Regions from separate parts of the Homo sapiens genome. Here all the other regions are linked to region 1. Evidence: promoter capture Hi-C in 16 types of primary human blood cells and fetal thymus (Javierre and others, 2016). All regions are on one chromosome and are shown on one strand. The core of a region is centred on a gene start or on the middle of the fragment in contact, and the rest is flanking DNA. Distances in the headings are between cores, read along the strand shown. Region 1 holds the start of EIF4G1 (eukaryotic translation initiation factor 4 gamma 1). Region 2 overlaps LINC01839 (long intergenic non-protein coding RNA 1839). Region 3 overlaps LINC01839 (long intergenic non-protein coding RNA 1839). Region 4 has its middle 4.7 kb from the start of DVL3. Region 5 overlaps DVL3 (dishevelled segment polarity protein 3).

What was found. Contacts are between HindIII fragments. The CHiCAGO score rates a contact against its expected background, and 5 or more counts as called.
Region 2: a fragment that was not itself captured here is called in contact with the fragment with the promoter of EIF4G1 in region 1 in 2 of 17 cell types (endothelial precursors and naive B cells); the score reaches 5.9 in endothelial precursors.
Region 3: a fragment that was not itself captured here is called in contact with the fragment with the promoter of EIF4G1 in region 1 in 1 of 17 cell types (naive B cells); the score reaches 5.9 in naive B cells.
Region 4: a fragment that was not itself captured here is called in contact with the fragment with the promoter of EIF4G1 in region 1 in 3 of 17 cell types (M1 macrophages, endothelial precursors and total CD8 T cells); the score reaches 5.5 in M1 macrophages.
Region 5: a contact is called between a fragment that was not itself captured here and the fragment with the promoter of EIF4G1 in region 1, in 11 of 17 cell types (total CD8 T cells, naive CD4 T cells, naive CD8 T cells and 8 more). The highest score is 9.1, in total CD8 T cells.

What each region holds. Positions count from the first base shown.
Region 1 is chr3:184,313,186-184,316,007 of GRCh38, forward strand. EIF4G1 (eukaryotic translation initiation factor 4 gamma 1) reads left to right here and starts at 1,421. Exons shown (of 33, transcript NM_198241.3): 1 at 1,421-1,489; 2 at 2,304-2,360; 3 at 2,578-2,671. The coding sequence starts at 2,612. RefSeq lists enhancers at 844-1,344, 2,069-2,690 and silencers at 1,172-1,501, 1,522-2,231. The HindIII fragment of the contact is 4,143 bases long and covers 1-2,532 here.
Region 2 is chr3:184,539,225-184,542,046 of GRCh38, forward strand. The region is part of intron 6 of LINC01839 (long intergenic non-protein coding RNA 1839); the gene reads left to right. Among named protein-coding and RNA genes, the nearest start is that of LINC01840, 16 kb to the right of the region's middle. The HindIII fragment of the contact is 803 bases long and covers 1,045-1,847 here.
Region 3 is chr3:184,519,776-184,522,597 of GRCh38, forward strand. All of the region lies in intron 6 of LINC01839 (long intergenic non-protein coding RNA 1839), which reads left to right. Among named protein-coding and RNA genes, the nearest start is that of LINC01840, 36 kb to the right of the region's middle. The HindIII fragment of the contact is 7,583 bases long and covers 1-2,822 here.
Region 4 is chr3:184,149,261-184,152,082 of GRCh38, forward strand. It overlaps the pseudogene RPS3P3. Among named protein-coding and RNA genes, the nearest start is that of DVL3, 4.7 kb to the right of the region's middle. The HindIII fragment of the contact is 3,986 bases long and covers 1-2,822 here.
Region 5 is chr3:184,170,325-184,173,146 of GRCh38, forward strand. DVL3 (dishevelled segment polarity protein 3) reads left to right here. Exons shown (of 15, transcript NM_004423.4): 15 at 1-2,822. The coding sequence ends at 431. Among named protein-coding and RNA genes, the nearest start is that of AP2M1, 3.1 kb to the right of the region's middle. RefSeq lists an enhancer at 1,217-1,511. The HindIII fragment of the contact is 3,938 bases long and covers 1-2,822 here.

The sequences.
Region 1 (2,822 bases), core at 171-2,670:
CCGCCCTGACCCCGTGATCCGCCCGCCTCGGCCTTCCAAAGTGCTGGGATTACAGGCGTGAACCACCGCGCCCGGCCCATGATCCTTTTAAACGACAAATCTCATACTACTTGCCTAGTTAGAATGTTTCTAACTTTTTAAACGACAAATCTCATACTACTTGCCTAGTTAGAATGTTTCTATCCTTTTAATTTCCTTTGTTATAGGCCTTTCAAGGACCTAATCTAAATTCTTTTCAAAGCCTGCATAATTCGTGTTGTATCACGATTTACTTAGGCAGGACTGAGTCTTTAATTTCTTTTTTTCTTTCTTTTTTTTTTTTTTTGAGATGGAGTCTCACCCTGTCGCCAGGCTAGAGTGCAGTGGCGTAATTTCGGCTCACTGCAACCTCCGCCTCCCGGGTTCAAGCAATTCTCTGCCTCTGCCTACCGAGTAGCTAGGACTACAGGCGTGCGCCACCAGGCCCAGCTAATTTTTTGTATTTTAGTAGAGACGGGGTTTCACCATGTTGGCCAGGATGGTCTAGATCTCCTGACCCCGTGATCCGCCCGCCTCGGCCTCCCAAAGTGCTGGGATTACAGGCGTGAGCCACTGCGCCCGGCCCATGATCTTTTTAAACTACAAATCTCATACTACTTGCCTAATTAGAATGTTTCTATCCTTTTAATTTCCTTTGTTATTGGCCTTTCAATGACCTAATCTAAATTATTTTCAAAGCCTGCATAATTCGTATTGTATCACGATTTACTTAGGCAGGACGGAGTCTTTAATTTCTTTCTTTTTTTTTTTTGAGATGGAGTCTCGCCCTGTCGCCAGGCTAGGCTAGAGTGCAGTGGCACAATCTCCGCTCACTGCAACCTCTGCCTCCCGGGCTCAAACAATTCTCCTGCCTCAGCCTCCCAAGTAGCTGGGACTACGGGTGCGCCACCACGCCCGGCTAATTTTTGTATTTTTAGTAAAGACGGGGTTTCACCATGTTGGCCAGGATGGTCTCGATCTCTTGACCTCGTGATCCGCCCACCTCGGCCTCCCAAAGTACTGGGATTAAGGTGTGAGCCACCGCGCCCCGCTTATTTTTTTTTTTTTTTTGCCGAGACTTTGATTTCAGTTTCTCAGCCCTCAACCAGCACTTCGCCTTGTACTTAGCATGCACTCAATAAATGGTTGCTTAAAATATGAATGAACTAAAGAATCGCGGAACAGAGAGAAACACAGAGGGGAATCGGTCTGGGAGTTTCAAAGTTCGGGAGGGGACACGGGGGCGGGCTGTGGCTGTCACGTGACGGGGCGGGGGCAAATCCCATGTGCTCGGCGGCGCAGATCGCCCGGCGCGGCTCCGCCCCCTGCGCCGGTCACGTGGGGGCGCCGGCTGCGCCTGCGGAGAAGCGGTGGCCGCCGAGCGGGATCTGTGCGGGGAGCCGGAAATGGTTGTGGACTACGTCTGTGCGGCTGCGTGGGGCTCGGCCGCGCGGACTGAAGGAGACTGAAGGTAAAGCCGCCATGTCCGGGCCCGACCCGGCCCCCCCACCCCCTCCCCCCGCATCCGCCGCCATCCGGGCCGGGACCGGCCACCCTGCGCCGCCGCCCCGGCGCCCTGGCCCCGCGGCCCGACCCAGGGCCCCGGCCCGCCAGGGTCCCGATCCCCGGCCCACGTGTGCCTGGCCCGGCCGGGCCTGGCTGCTGGGTGGGGGTGGGGAGCGCAGGGCCGGACTATGCGGGCCCCGCGGGCTGGTAGGGCGCCGGGTTCGTCGCCGCGAAATGCCACCTCGGCCTGACCCGAGGAGGCCCGGCAGCCCACGGGCGCAGGCACCACGGCTCCCGGCCCGCCGCCCCCTCCCCCCTTCGCGGCCAGGCCGCCGGGAAGTGACACGTTGTTCTTTGGCACTGGCCCGCGCTGCGCAGGGAGGGCGCAGGGGAGGGAGGCGGTGGCGGCGGGCAGGGAGGAGCCCCCGGCCCCGCCCGCCCTCCGGGCCGACCCTCACTTGCCTGAAACCGGCTCCTCGACGGCCGCCGCCCGCCTGGCCTTTTAGGGCCTGACTCCCGCCCTTCCTGGCCTACACTCCTGGGCGGCGGCAGGCCTAGCTTCTGGCCCAGTGCGGGTTCCCCGGCGGCAGGCGTATCCTGTGTGCCCCTGGGCCAGGCCCGAACCCGGTGTCCCCGGGTGGGGGGTGGGGACGCCACGGCCGAAGCAGCTAGCTCCGTTCGTGATCCGGGAGCCTGGTGCCAGCGAGACCTGGAATTTCCGGTCTGGTTGGTCTGGGGCCCCGCGGAGCCAGGTTGATACCCTCACCTCCCAACCCCAGGCCCTCGGATGCCCAGAACCTGTAGGCCGCACCGTGGACTTGTTCTTAATCGAGGGGGTGAGTGAGGGGTCTGTTTCAGTAGGTCAGGGGTTGGTTGGAAGTGATGCGGGTTTGACAGCATGTTGGTGGGGACAGGCTGTATCTTTTCTGCTTCACCCTCTTGGCATCTCTGGGACTCCGTATGGGACCCAGCCCTTGCATCAACCCTTTCACCGCCCCATTTGCCTTAAGCTTGGGTCCCTTCCTCTTCCTGAGCGCCACTCTTTCCCAACAGGTGCTGGGGGGACCCTGATGTGGCACCAAATGAAATGAACAAAGCTCCACAGTCCACAGGCCCCCCACCCGCCCCATCCCCCGGACTCCCACAGGTAATTAGGGAGGAATTAGCAGGGGTGGGGGTGGGGGAGACCAGGCAGTCTCCAGCCTCTGGATCTTCCTACCCCCATCTGTGTCAGGGCAAAGTGCAGCCGCCTGCTGCCAAATTGAGACAGGGCCCCTGGGCTGTCCCCGGGGGCTGTC
Region 2 (2,822 bases), core at 196-2,695, 230 kb after region 1:
CCCTCAGGGAGCTCACAGTCTCCATAGAAAGACGTGCAGGTGCACGCTGGCTCACACACACACACAGCACATGCACACACGCAGCACATAACGAGAACTAACAACTGGCAAACTCAAGAGCTGTGGTGGCTCCAGCAGTGCCGCTGCTGCTTGTGGGTGGGAGATGTGGGGGCATGCATAGGCTGATTTTGCAGGTGGCTTTGGAGCAGTGGTTCAGGCAAAGGCGTTACAGGACCTAGAGCTGGGCCCAGGTGGAATCATTGTCTTATTGGGTGACTTTAGCCAAACTAGGAGTCTTAATGCTACCTTACAGGTTTTGTGTTTTTGTTTAGAATTAAAAGAGGCAGGGCCAGGCGAGGTGGCTCACGCCTGTAATCCCGGCACTTTGGGAGGCCGAGGTGGGTGGATCACCTGAGGTCGGGAGTTCGAAACCAGCCTGACCAACATGGAGAAACCCCGTCTCTACTAAAAATACAAAATTAGCTGGGTGTGGTGGCGCATGCCTGTAATCCCAGCTACTCAGGAGGCTGAGGCAGGAGAATCGCTCGAACCTGGGAGGCGGAGTTTGCGGTGAGCCAAGATTGTGCCATTGCACTCCAGCCTGGGCAACAAGAGCGAATCTCTGTCTCAAAAGAGAAAAAAAAAAATAGTGGCAATATCGGTGTAAGAGCCTACCATAGAGAAGTGCTTCATGGCAGCTGAACCTGAACCTGGCACATCCTGGGACGCCTGTGGCCGCAGGGGAACCGCCTGGCCCAGCAGAGCTCGCTGTTTGATATGAACACGGATCACACAAGACAACTGGTAACAGCAGTGGCCTCCTGGGAGGGGAAAGGCTTACCACGGGCAAGACAGGGAGGGACATTTGTTTTTTTAAATTTTGTACACGATACATCTATTTCTTGGTTCAAAAGTATGTCAACCATTTTCCACCTTGGCCTGCACGCAGTGGGGTGCTGTGAACGTTCAACAAGGGGCTCTGGGGCAGCCTGGTACCAGCAGGCTCCAGCGCCCCCACCGGTTGCACAGGTGTGGTAAGGCCAAAGCTTAAGGACTGATGACTAAGGTTGCTGTTCTCCCTCAGTGGGAGGGAAACCAAGGTCCAGAGAAAGCCGAGGCTCTCTCTTAGGACCAAAAATCCAGCGGTGGCAAAATTGAGTCTGAATCCAAGTCATTTGACTTGGAAGGGCCCGGGTTCAGGTCCAGCCTCTCTGTCCAGCTGTGACCTGAAACAAGTTGGCTAACGTGTCTGAGCCTGTATTTTCTTGAGGATGATAATATCCACTTCTCAAGATTGTTTTGCAGCTTCACTACAAAAAAAAAAAAAAAACAAAAAAACAAAAAAACTACCTGAGGGTGCTTTGAAAACCTTGAAACCCTGGCCAGGCGCGGTGACTCACACCTGTAATCCCAGCACTTTGGGAGGCCGAGGCAGGTGGATCACCTGAGGTCAGGAGTTCGAGACCAGCCTGGCCAACATGGTGAAACCCTGTCTCACTAAAACTACAAAATTAGCTGGGCATGGTGGCAGGCGCCGGTAATCTCAGCTACTTGGGAGGCTGAGGCAGGAGAATTGCTTGAACCAGGGAGGTAGAGGTTGCAGTGAGCCGAGATTGCGCCATTGCACTCCAGCCTGGGCAAAAAGAGCAAAACTCCGTCTAAAAGGAAAGAAAGAAAAAGAAAGAAAGAAAGAAGAAAGAAAGAGAAAGAGAGAGAGAAAGAAAGAAAGAAAGAAGAAAGAGAAAGAAAGAAAGACCTTAAAACTCTAATACAATATAATGGGTTTTTAAATAAAAAAGAAAATAGAAATCACCTTTTCCTCTAGCCCCTCAGTTCAGCATTAGTCAAGCTTTTTAACCTACTCTTGAACGTATCAAGAGCCTTCTTTACTTGGCCCACCCTGGGTAGAACTGGGATTCTCCCCAGTTCCTGAAGTTTCCATGGCTCTACTCTGTAACAAGGAAAAGGGAAACATGCGTCCTCCCTCCGCTGGAGTTTCTCCACAGGTGAGTCCTTTGCTGCCAAAGGTTGTACCTGTTCTGCCACCGCCCCCTGCTGGTGACTCTTACAAGGCGCCCTGTCTTCACTGGCATCCGAGCAGGTTGGAATTTAAGGGAAGTATCTAGATCCACCTAGATGGGGCTTGGTGAGGAGGAATCAAGCTGCTGGGTCTCGAGTAGCCTCCATCTCTGCACCGTGGCCACTGTGCCCATCATGCCGGCAATGGGCTGTCCAATGGCAAAGGAAGGCTGATGGAGGTTGACCAGGTCATTTTGTCTAGTTGGTTGTTCAGTGCCTGTCCGCAGTGGATGCTCTCTGGCAGCTGTGAACATGCGCTACAAAGACCTTCACACTTGGGCCCACTCCCAAATGTCCAGACACATCCTCCAGCCCAGACCTGCTGCTCCTCATCTTCCAGCCTTTTTCCTTCAGGTCCCAGCCTCCAACCACTCAGCTGAGCCATCAGCCACTACCCATGAGTTGTACATATCTTAACTTTGGGACCCTTCTCTTTCCACACAAAGGGGATGATTAGCTGCACCATCTGAAACTCCGCCTATTTATTGGAGGATTTTCTCCAATAATTTTGGAGAAATAGTTTCCAAAATTATTGGAAAATTATTCCAAAATAATTCCAAAACTATTGGAAAATTCCAAAATGATTTCCAATAATTTTTTCCAATCCACCCCTGAGTGAGGCTGCCATCATTTTTAGTTTGCACATACATGTGGAGCTGACCCATCTGTACCCCAAGTTCAGGCTTTTCCTCCCCGCTTTGGCTGGTTGGACAGGAACCCATAGAATCATGGGCATGAGCTGG
Region 3 (2,822 bases), core at 195-2,694, 210 kb after region 1:
AAATATATATATAAAATAAAATAAAAATTGTATTATTTAAAAGAAGGAAATAAAACTATCATTAGCTGTAGGCAGTGTGACTGTGTATGTAAACATTCTAGAACAATCTAAAGATAATATGTTTAATTTAATGAATGGATTTAACAAGAATGCTGGCTCCAAGGTTGATATACCAAATATAGCACTGATTTGTAGCTCACTATTATTGCCACGTGTAACAACAGGAAATAATCCCACAAACATAATACAGAGAGAAAGGAGCAAAGGATTAAAACAAATACAGCATCATCTCATTCTTTTTTTTTTTTTTTTTTTTGAGACGGATCTCGTTCTGTTGCCCAGGCTGGAGTGCAGTGGTGCGATCTTAGCTCACTGAAGTCTCTGCCTCCTGGGTTCAAGCTATTCTCGGGCCTCAGCCTCCCAAGCAGCTGGGACTACAAGTGTGCACCACCATGCCTGGCTAATTTTTGTATTTTTAGTAGAGACGGGGTTTCACCATGTTGGCCAGGCTGGTCTCTAACTCCTGACCTCAGGTGATCTGCCGGCCTCGGCCTCCCAAAGTGCTGGGATTACAGACGTGAGCCACCACACCCAGCCTCATTCTATTTGAATAATATATTTTTTTAAACTAAGATATATTGTTTAGAGATATACATATACTGTTTATTACAGAAATCAGGCATTTCAGAAATTAGAAATCCCTCCCTGGTGGGGAGGGAGATTATTGTCTATAAGGGGCACAATGGAGCAGGAGGAGCAGTTCTAAGGTGTTGACAATGGTTTTTTTTTTTTTTTGAGACGGAGTCTCGCTCTGTCGCCCAGGCTGGAGTTCAGTGGCGCGATCTCGGCTCACCACAACCTCCACCTCCTGGGTTCACGCCATTCTCCTGCCTCAGCCTCCTGAGTAGCTGAGACTACAGGCGCCCGCCACCATGCCCGGCTAATTTTTTTTGTATTTTTAGTAGAGACGGGGTTTCACCGTGTTAGCCAGGATGGTCTCGATCTCCTGACCTCGCAATCCGCCTGCCTTGGCCTCCCAAAATGCTGGGATTACAGGCGTGAGCCACCGCGCCCGGCCCGACAATATTTTATTTCTCTACCTGGGTTGTAGTTACACAACTGTTCACTTTATATTTATCATAAGCCATATATATGTGTGTATATATATATGCGTATGTATAAAATCCTAGTTTTCTATATAGAGATATATACCATGTTTATCAATAGGAAGACTCAATATCATAAAGTTGTCTACTTCCCCAAATTAGTCTATGAAGTTACTGGTTTTTTGGTTTGTTTGTTTTTGAGATAGCATCTCACCCTGTCACCCAGACTAGAGTGCAGTGGCGTGAGCATGGCTCACTGCAGCCTTAAACTCCTGGGCTCAAGCCACCCTCCCACCTCAGCCTCTGGAGCAGCTGGGACTACAGGTGAACGCCACCAAGCCAGGCTAAGTTTTTTTTTTTTTTTAATTTTTGTAGAGATGGGGCCTTGCTATGTTGCACAGACTGGCCTTGAACTCCTGGCCTCAAATGATCCTTCTGCCTCGGCCTCCCAAAGTGCTGGGATTATAGGTGTGAGCTACCGTGCCTGGCCCTGAAGTTACTGGGTTTTTTTTTTCTTTTTCTTTTTTATTATTATTATTTTTTTACCGCTTATCCTCAAGTTCTATGAAGTTACTGTTTTAATCAAAATTCCCAACAAAGATTTTTATAGAACTGGTATGCTAACTTTAAAAAAATGTACATTTCACAATAAAAATGCATGTAAAGTACTATAATAAAAGATGAAACAATTTTAAAAATAGAACTCTTGGAGTGGGGAAAGCCTTTCTAAGTAAAGGACAAAACTCAGAAGACAAAAAAGGAAAAATAGAACATGTGCAAATACATTAAAGCAAAATTCTGTATGGAAAAAACAAAAAAAGTAAAAAAAAATGAAAAGTTAGAAAAAATACGGCAACTCATATGTTATATAAATAGCTAATTTCCTCAATATATAGTTAGCTCTTACTATCAACATAGGAATAAATACAGCCCAAAAGAAAATCAGCATACAGCAAGAAAAGATGTATAAATGGCTTAAAGACATACAAAAAGATGGGTTCTATTTCAACCATAATTAAGAAAATGCATATTAAAGAAAAAATAAGTTCTTCATTTTAAAATTTGATAATATAAAGTGTTAGCGTGAATGAGGGCAATGCAGATAGGCAATTCTCATGCGTTTGTTGGAATTGTAAATTGTTGCAATCTTTTTAGAGAGCGATTTGGCAGTCTATCAAAATTACACATGCATTTATTCTCTGCCCATTCCTATAGGGATGCTCCCATTGTTGTAAAGCTGTATGTATAAGAATGATGATTGCAGTGTTGTTTGTTATTGCAAAAGACTGGACACAAGTTAACAGGGAACTGGAAAATGAACTGTGTAGTTATTTTTAAAATGAGCTAAACTTTATGCACTAACATGGGAAGATTACAAAGGGAAAAGCAAAGTGCTGAACTGTATTTTATACTTTAATTGGTGTCAAAAAAATGGATGGGATAGATTTGGAGAGAATATAATCATATGCATAATTGTAGGAGACTACAATATTTCTGGAAGGCTACACAAGAACCTGTAAGCAGCGGAAGCCTGCTGGTGGGGGAGCCGATAACCTGAGGTGGGCAGGTGGGCAGCTGAGTTCCATTTGTACGCTTTGTACTTTTTTTTTAAGAGATGGGGATCTTGCTGTGTTACCCAGGCTGAAGTGCAGTGGCTATTCACAGGCGCCATCATGGTGCACTACAGCCTCAAACTCCTAGGCTTAAGTGATCCTC
Region 4 (2,822 bases), core at 220-2,719, 160 kb before region 1:
AATCCCAGCCCTTTGGGAGGCCAAGGCAGATGGATTGCTTGATGCCAGGAATTTGGGACCAGCTGGGCAACATAGCAAGATCCCATCTCGACAAAAAATTTTAAATTATCAGCCAAGGGTGGTGGTGTGTGCCTGTAGTCCCAGCTACTCGGGAGACTGAGGTGGGAGGATCACTTGTGCCCAGTTCGAGGCTGCAGTGAGCTATGATCACACCACTGCACTCCAGCCAGGAAGACAGAGCAAGACCTTGCCTCCAAAAAAAAAAAAAAAAGGCTGGGTGTGATGTGACTCACACCTGTAATCCCAGCACTTTGGGAGGCCAAGGTTGGCAGAGGATAACTTAAGCCCAGGAGTTTGATACCAGACTGGCCAATGTGGTGAAACCCTGTGTCTATTAAAAATACAAAATTAGGCCTTTCCTTTCAGTGGAGCGTGGCGGCAAGATGGCTGTGCAAATTTCCAAGAAGAGGATGTTTGTCACTGATGACATCTTCAAAGCTGAACTGAATGAGTTTCTTACTCAGGAGCTGGCTGAAGATGGCTACTCTGGAGTTGAGATGCAAGTTACACCAACCAGGACAGAAATCATTATCTTAGCCACCAGAACACAGAATATTCCTGGTGAGAAGGGCTGACGGATTCGGGAACTGACTGCTATAGTTCAGAAGAGGTTTGGCTTTCCAGAGGGCAGTGTAGAGCTTTATGCTGAAAAGGTTGCCACTAGAGGTCTGTGTGCCATTGCCCAGGCAGAGTCTCTGCGTTACAAACTCCTAGGAGGGCTTGCTGTGTGGAGGGCCTGCTATGGTGTGCTGCGGTTCATCATGGAGAGTGGGGCCAAAGGCTGCAAGGTCATGGCGTCTGGGAAACTCCGAGGACAGAGGGCTAAATCCATGAAGTTTGTGGATGGCCTGACGATCCACAGTGGAGACCCTATTAACTACTACGTTGGCACTGCTGTGTGCCACGTGTTGCTCAGACAGGGTGTGCTGGGCATCAAGGTGAAGATCATGCTGCCCTGGGACCCAACTGGTAAGACTGGCCCTAAGAAGCCCCTGCCTGACCACGTGAGCATCGTGGAACCCAAAGATGAGATACTGCCCACCACCCCCATCTCAGAACAGAAGGGTGGGAAGCCAGAGCCATCTGCCATGCCCCAGCCAGTCCCTACAGCATAACAGGGTCTCCTTAGCAGCTGTATTCTGGAGTCTGGATGTTGCTCTGTAAAGACCTTTAATAAAATCTCATACAAAGACAAAAAAATATATACAAAATTAGGGCTGGGCATGGTGGCTCACACCTGTAATCCCAGCACTTTGGGAGGCTGAGGCGGGCAGATCACCTGAGGTCAGGAGTTTGAGACAATCCTGGCCAACATGGTGGAACCCTGTCTCTACTAAAAATACAAAATATTAGCTGGGCATGGTGGTGCATGCCTGTAATCCCAGCTACTCAGGAGGCTGAGGCAGGAGAATCGCCTGAGCCCAGGAGGCAGAGGTTGCAGTGAGCCGAGATAGCTCCACTGCACTCCAGCCTGGATGATAGGGTGAGACTCCTTCTCAAAAAAAAAAAAAAAGAAAAAAAAAGTTAGCCGCATGTGGTGGTGTGCACCTGTAATCCCAGCTACTCAGGAGGCTGAGGCACGAGAATCACTTGAACCCAGGAGGTGGAGATTGCAGTGAGCTGAGACCACACCACTGCACTCCAGCCTGAGTGACAGAGTGAGACTCTGTCTCAAAAAAAAAGAACATTTTAATTACCATTTTTCCGTTTTTTTTTTTCTTTTAGACTGAGTTTTGTTCTGTTGCCCAGGCTGGAGTGCAGTGATGTGGTCTCAGCTCACTGCAATCTCCACCTCCCGGGTTCACGCGATTCTCGTGCCTCAGTCTCCTGAGTAGCTGGGATTACAGGTGCTTACCACCACACACGGCTACTTTTTTGTTTGTTTGTTTTTTTGAGAAGGAGTGTCGCTGTCACCCAGGCTGGAGTGCAGTGGCGTTGGGATTACAGGCATGGACCTGGTCTTAATTCAAGAATTTATTGTTGGCTGGGTACGGTGGTTCACACCTATAATCCCAGCACTTCGATAGGATCGCTTGAGCCAAGGAGTTTGAGGCTGCAGTGAGCCATGATTACCTCACTATACTCCAACCTGAGCAACAGAGCAAGGCCTTGTCTCAATAAACAGGTAAATAAAACAAAGGAGTAAAGTATCCAGGAAACAGATTCAACACAGAGACAGGTAAAGGGAATTTTGAGGATGCAGAGAAGTCCCAGGATGACAGCTGTGCACAGGCTGAGATAGCCGGCGGTGCAGACCAGAGCAAAAGAATGGAAGGTTCCACCAAGCGTGGTGGCTCACGCCTGTAATCCCAGCACTTTGAGAGGCTAAGGCGAGCGATCACCTGAGGTCAGGAGTTCCAGATCAGCCTGGCTAACATGGTGAGACCCTGTCTCTACTAAAAATACAATATTAGCTGGGCGTGGTGGCAGGCGCCTGTAATCCCAGCTACTTGGGAGGCTGAGGCAGGAGAATCACTTGAACCTGGGAGGCAGAGGTTGCAGTGAGCCGGAATCTCGCCACTGCACTCCAGCCTGGGCGACAGAGTGAGACTCCATCTAAAAAAAAAAAAAAAAAAAGATGGAAGCCTCCAGGGAAAAATTGAACTGATGGATTATCTAATAGCTTTGACTGAATGAACAAAATGTGTATTGAGAAACTATTAGATTACATGGGAAAAACTAATGATAGGTATAATATATTAAAACAAATGAAAACACAAGGCAATGATTAAAGTCAGAGGAAACAAAAAAGTTGTAAAGGA
Region 5 (2,822 bases), core at 133-2,632, 140 kb before region 1:
GGAGCAGTGGCTCCAACCGTAGCGGCAGCGATCGGAGGAAGGAGAAGGACCCGAAGGCCGGGGACTCCAAGTCCGGGGGCAGCGGCAGCGAATCGGACCACACCACACGCAGCAGCCTGCGGGGGCCGCGGGAGCGGGCGCCCAGCGAGCGCTCAGGGCCGGCGGCCAGCGAGCACAGCCACCGCAGCCACCATTCCCTGGCCAGCAGCCTTCGCAGCCACCACACACACCCGAGCTACGGTCCTCCCGGAGTGCCCCCTCTCTACGGCCCCCCCATGCTGATGATGCCCCCGCCGCCCGCGGCCATGGGGCCCCCAGGAGCCCCTCCGGGCCGCGACCTGGCCTCAGTGCCCCCGGAACTGACCGCCAGCAGACAGTCCTTCCGCATGGCCATGGGAAACCCCAGTGAGTTCTTTGTGGATGTGATGTGAGCAGGGCCCCTCCCCCAGCTCCATTCCGCTCCCACCCCAGCCGGCTGCGTTCCTCTCTCCATCCGTCCGTCTTTTTTACTTTGTCTGGTACCTGAAAGGGAAATAAAAGGAACTAAATCCAGGTGCGCTAACTGCTCGCAGGGTGCTGCGAGGGTGGGGTGCACCTACCGATTGGCTCTGCAGCCCCCTAACCTGCCTCTGGCCCCAGTTCGTTTCCTCTGCCCACTAATCCCTGCGCAGGACTTCCCAGGACCCCTTTTGTCTCTGGGACCAGACTTGTTGGTGCTACCCCTTACTCCCCTCTGCAACCCCCATTTTGGGAGTTGACCCCAGCAATGACCTTGGTGGCACGCTCACTCCCTCATTCTCTCGTTTCCCCTTTAGCTCCCTTTCACCATTTATTCAGCTACATCATCCCTCTATTAACCCCACCCCATCAGGCACGTGTGCAAACCTCTTGACTTTACCCCACATTACTGAAACCAAAATATATTTGCTTCATCTGCCCCTACTAACCATCCCCCTGCCTGCTGCCTCAGTCCTGCAACCTAAAGCTGTAGTCGCCTCCAATAGCCATCCATGCCATCCCTGCCTGTGCCTAGATCAGAGGCCCAGAGGGCCCCCTCAGTTGCCTGAGCAGCTGGTGGCTTCCAGGGAGCATCTCTGCTCTACCCCTGCCCCATGCCTGCCCTGCGTGCTGGTTCCTTCAGACCCCTAACCCTACTAACCAGCAGGCTCATCTCACCTCCAGGCCTGAAACATTTCTTTTCTTTCTTTTTTCCTCCCCCAATTTACCCTGGGCCTGGAGCAGCCAAGAATTTCGGGCTGTTTGACTTTCTGTGAGCCCCCAGCGAGGGGAGGCCCAGCCTCCGAGGAGACCAGGAACCCTGCTTCAGCAGCCCCTCAGGGCTTCCCAAGGATGTCCAGCCCCCACACCCACACGTTAACATAATGAGTCACTAGGCTTCTGGGGAGGGCCCAACTTCACCCATGCATGAGAGACTCTCCTCCTTTCCAGAGAGAATCGGATCGCACCACGTGTGGCAGCCTGCGGCGGGGGGAGGGGGGCCTCTTTAGCTCTCTTTATCTTTCTCTCTCACTCATGTATGCATACATGCACAGAGATGCATACACAGGTGCCTATGCAAGTTCATTTAAGCCTCAGGGCTGGTCCCTGCCCAAAGGGCTGGACCCTCCTAATCCTCTCCTAGGTTGTGGGGCTGGTCCCCTGACACCCTTCTCCCCTTCCTGGTAGACCTTAAACCTCGCACACATGTCCCCAGCATTTTCTCACCTGGATAAAGCCCATAAGCTGGGTCTCAGGCTGGGCTCAGCAAAGGACTCGCCTTGCAACCGACAGGCCATTCCCACCCCCACACACAACCTCCCCTGTTTTCACATTCACCATGGCATCCCAGAGCAAGGACACAGGAGCCCACAGGCCAGTTGAGGTTGGGCAAGGAGACTTCCAGGACTTCCAGACAGAGTACCAGGTTTTATTTTTCACCTTATTCTCTACTTTAAACAAATCATAACTTTCTCTTTAAGCCTCTGCTATAAATTCTCCTGGCTCTCCTGGGCTTCCATATTTTGGGGGCTGGGGTGTCAAAAGTGAGATGAAGTTCTTAGCTCCAGGTTTTGGGGTAAACCAAGGTAGGAACATTTTGGCATTTATTTCAATTAACAATACTTCCTTGGACGGGTGCGGTGGCTCACGTCTGTAATCCCAGCACTTTGGGAGGCTGAGACAGGTGGATCACTTGAGGTCGGGAGTTCGAGACCAGCCTGGCCAACATAGCAAAACCCTGTCTCTACTAAAAATACAAAAATTAGATGGGTGTTTTGGCACCTGCCTGTAATCTCAGCTACTCAGGAGGCTGAGGCACAAGAATCGCTTGAATCCAGGAAGCAAGCGGAGGTTGCAGTGAGTTGAGATCGCACTCCAGCCTGGGTGACAGAGTGAGATTCTGTCTCAAAAGCAAACTAACAAAGAAAAACAATACTTCCTGGGGTTTTGGTGTGCAGAGGGCTTTGTTGGAAGTGTGACTCAATCTTGCCTGCCTTCTGGGAGCTCTAGAATTGTTCCCAACCCAGTCCATGGCTTCTAGCCACCACTACAGGGCTGTTTCATGTACTTCTCTCTCTGACTCTGTCTTGTCCGACTCTCTTGAGAATTTCTCAACGATTGCTCATGCCTGTCAGTATCAGTGCTTCCATCGTTCCATCTTTGATTCACTTCTCTTTCCTTTCTATTTACTCCCAAAATGGAGTCATTCATCCTGATGTCCTCAATTGCTGCTGATATGCTGGTGATTCCCAAATACATAGCTCCAACCCCCAACTTCCCCCAGACTTTAGATCTGTATTGGTATTACCTACTGGACATCTCTA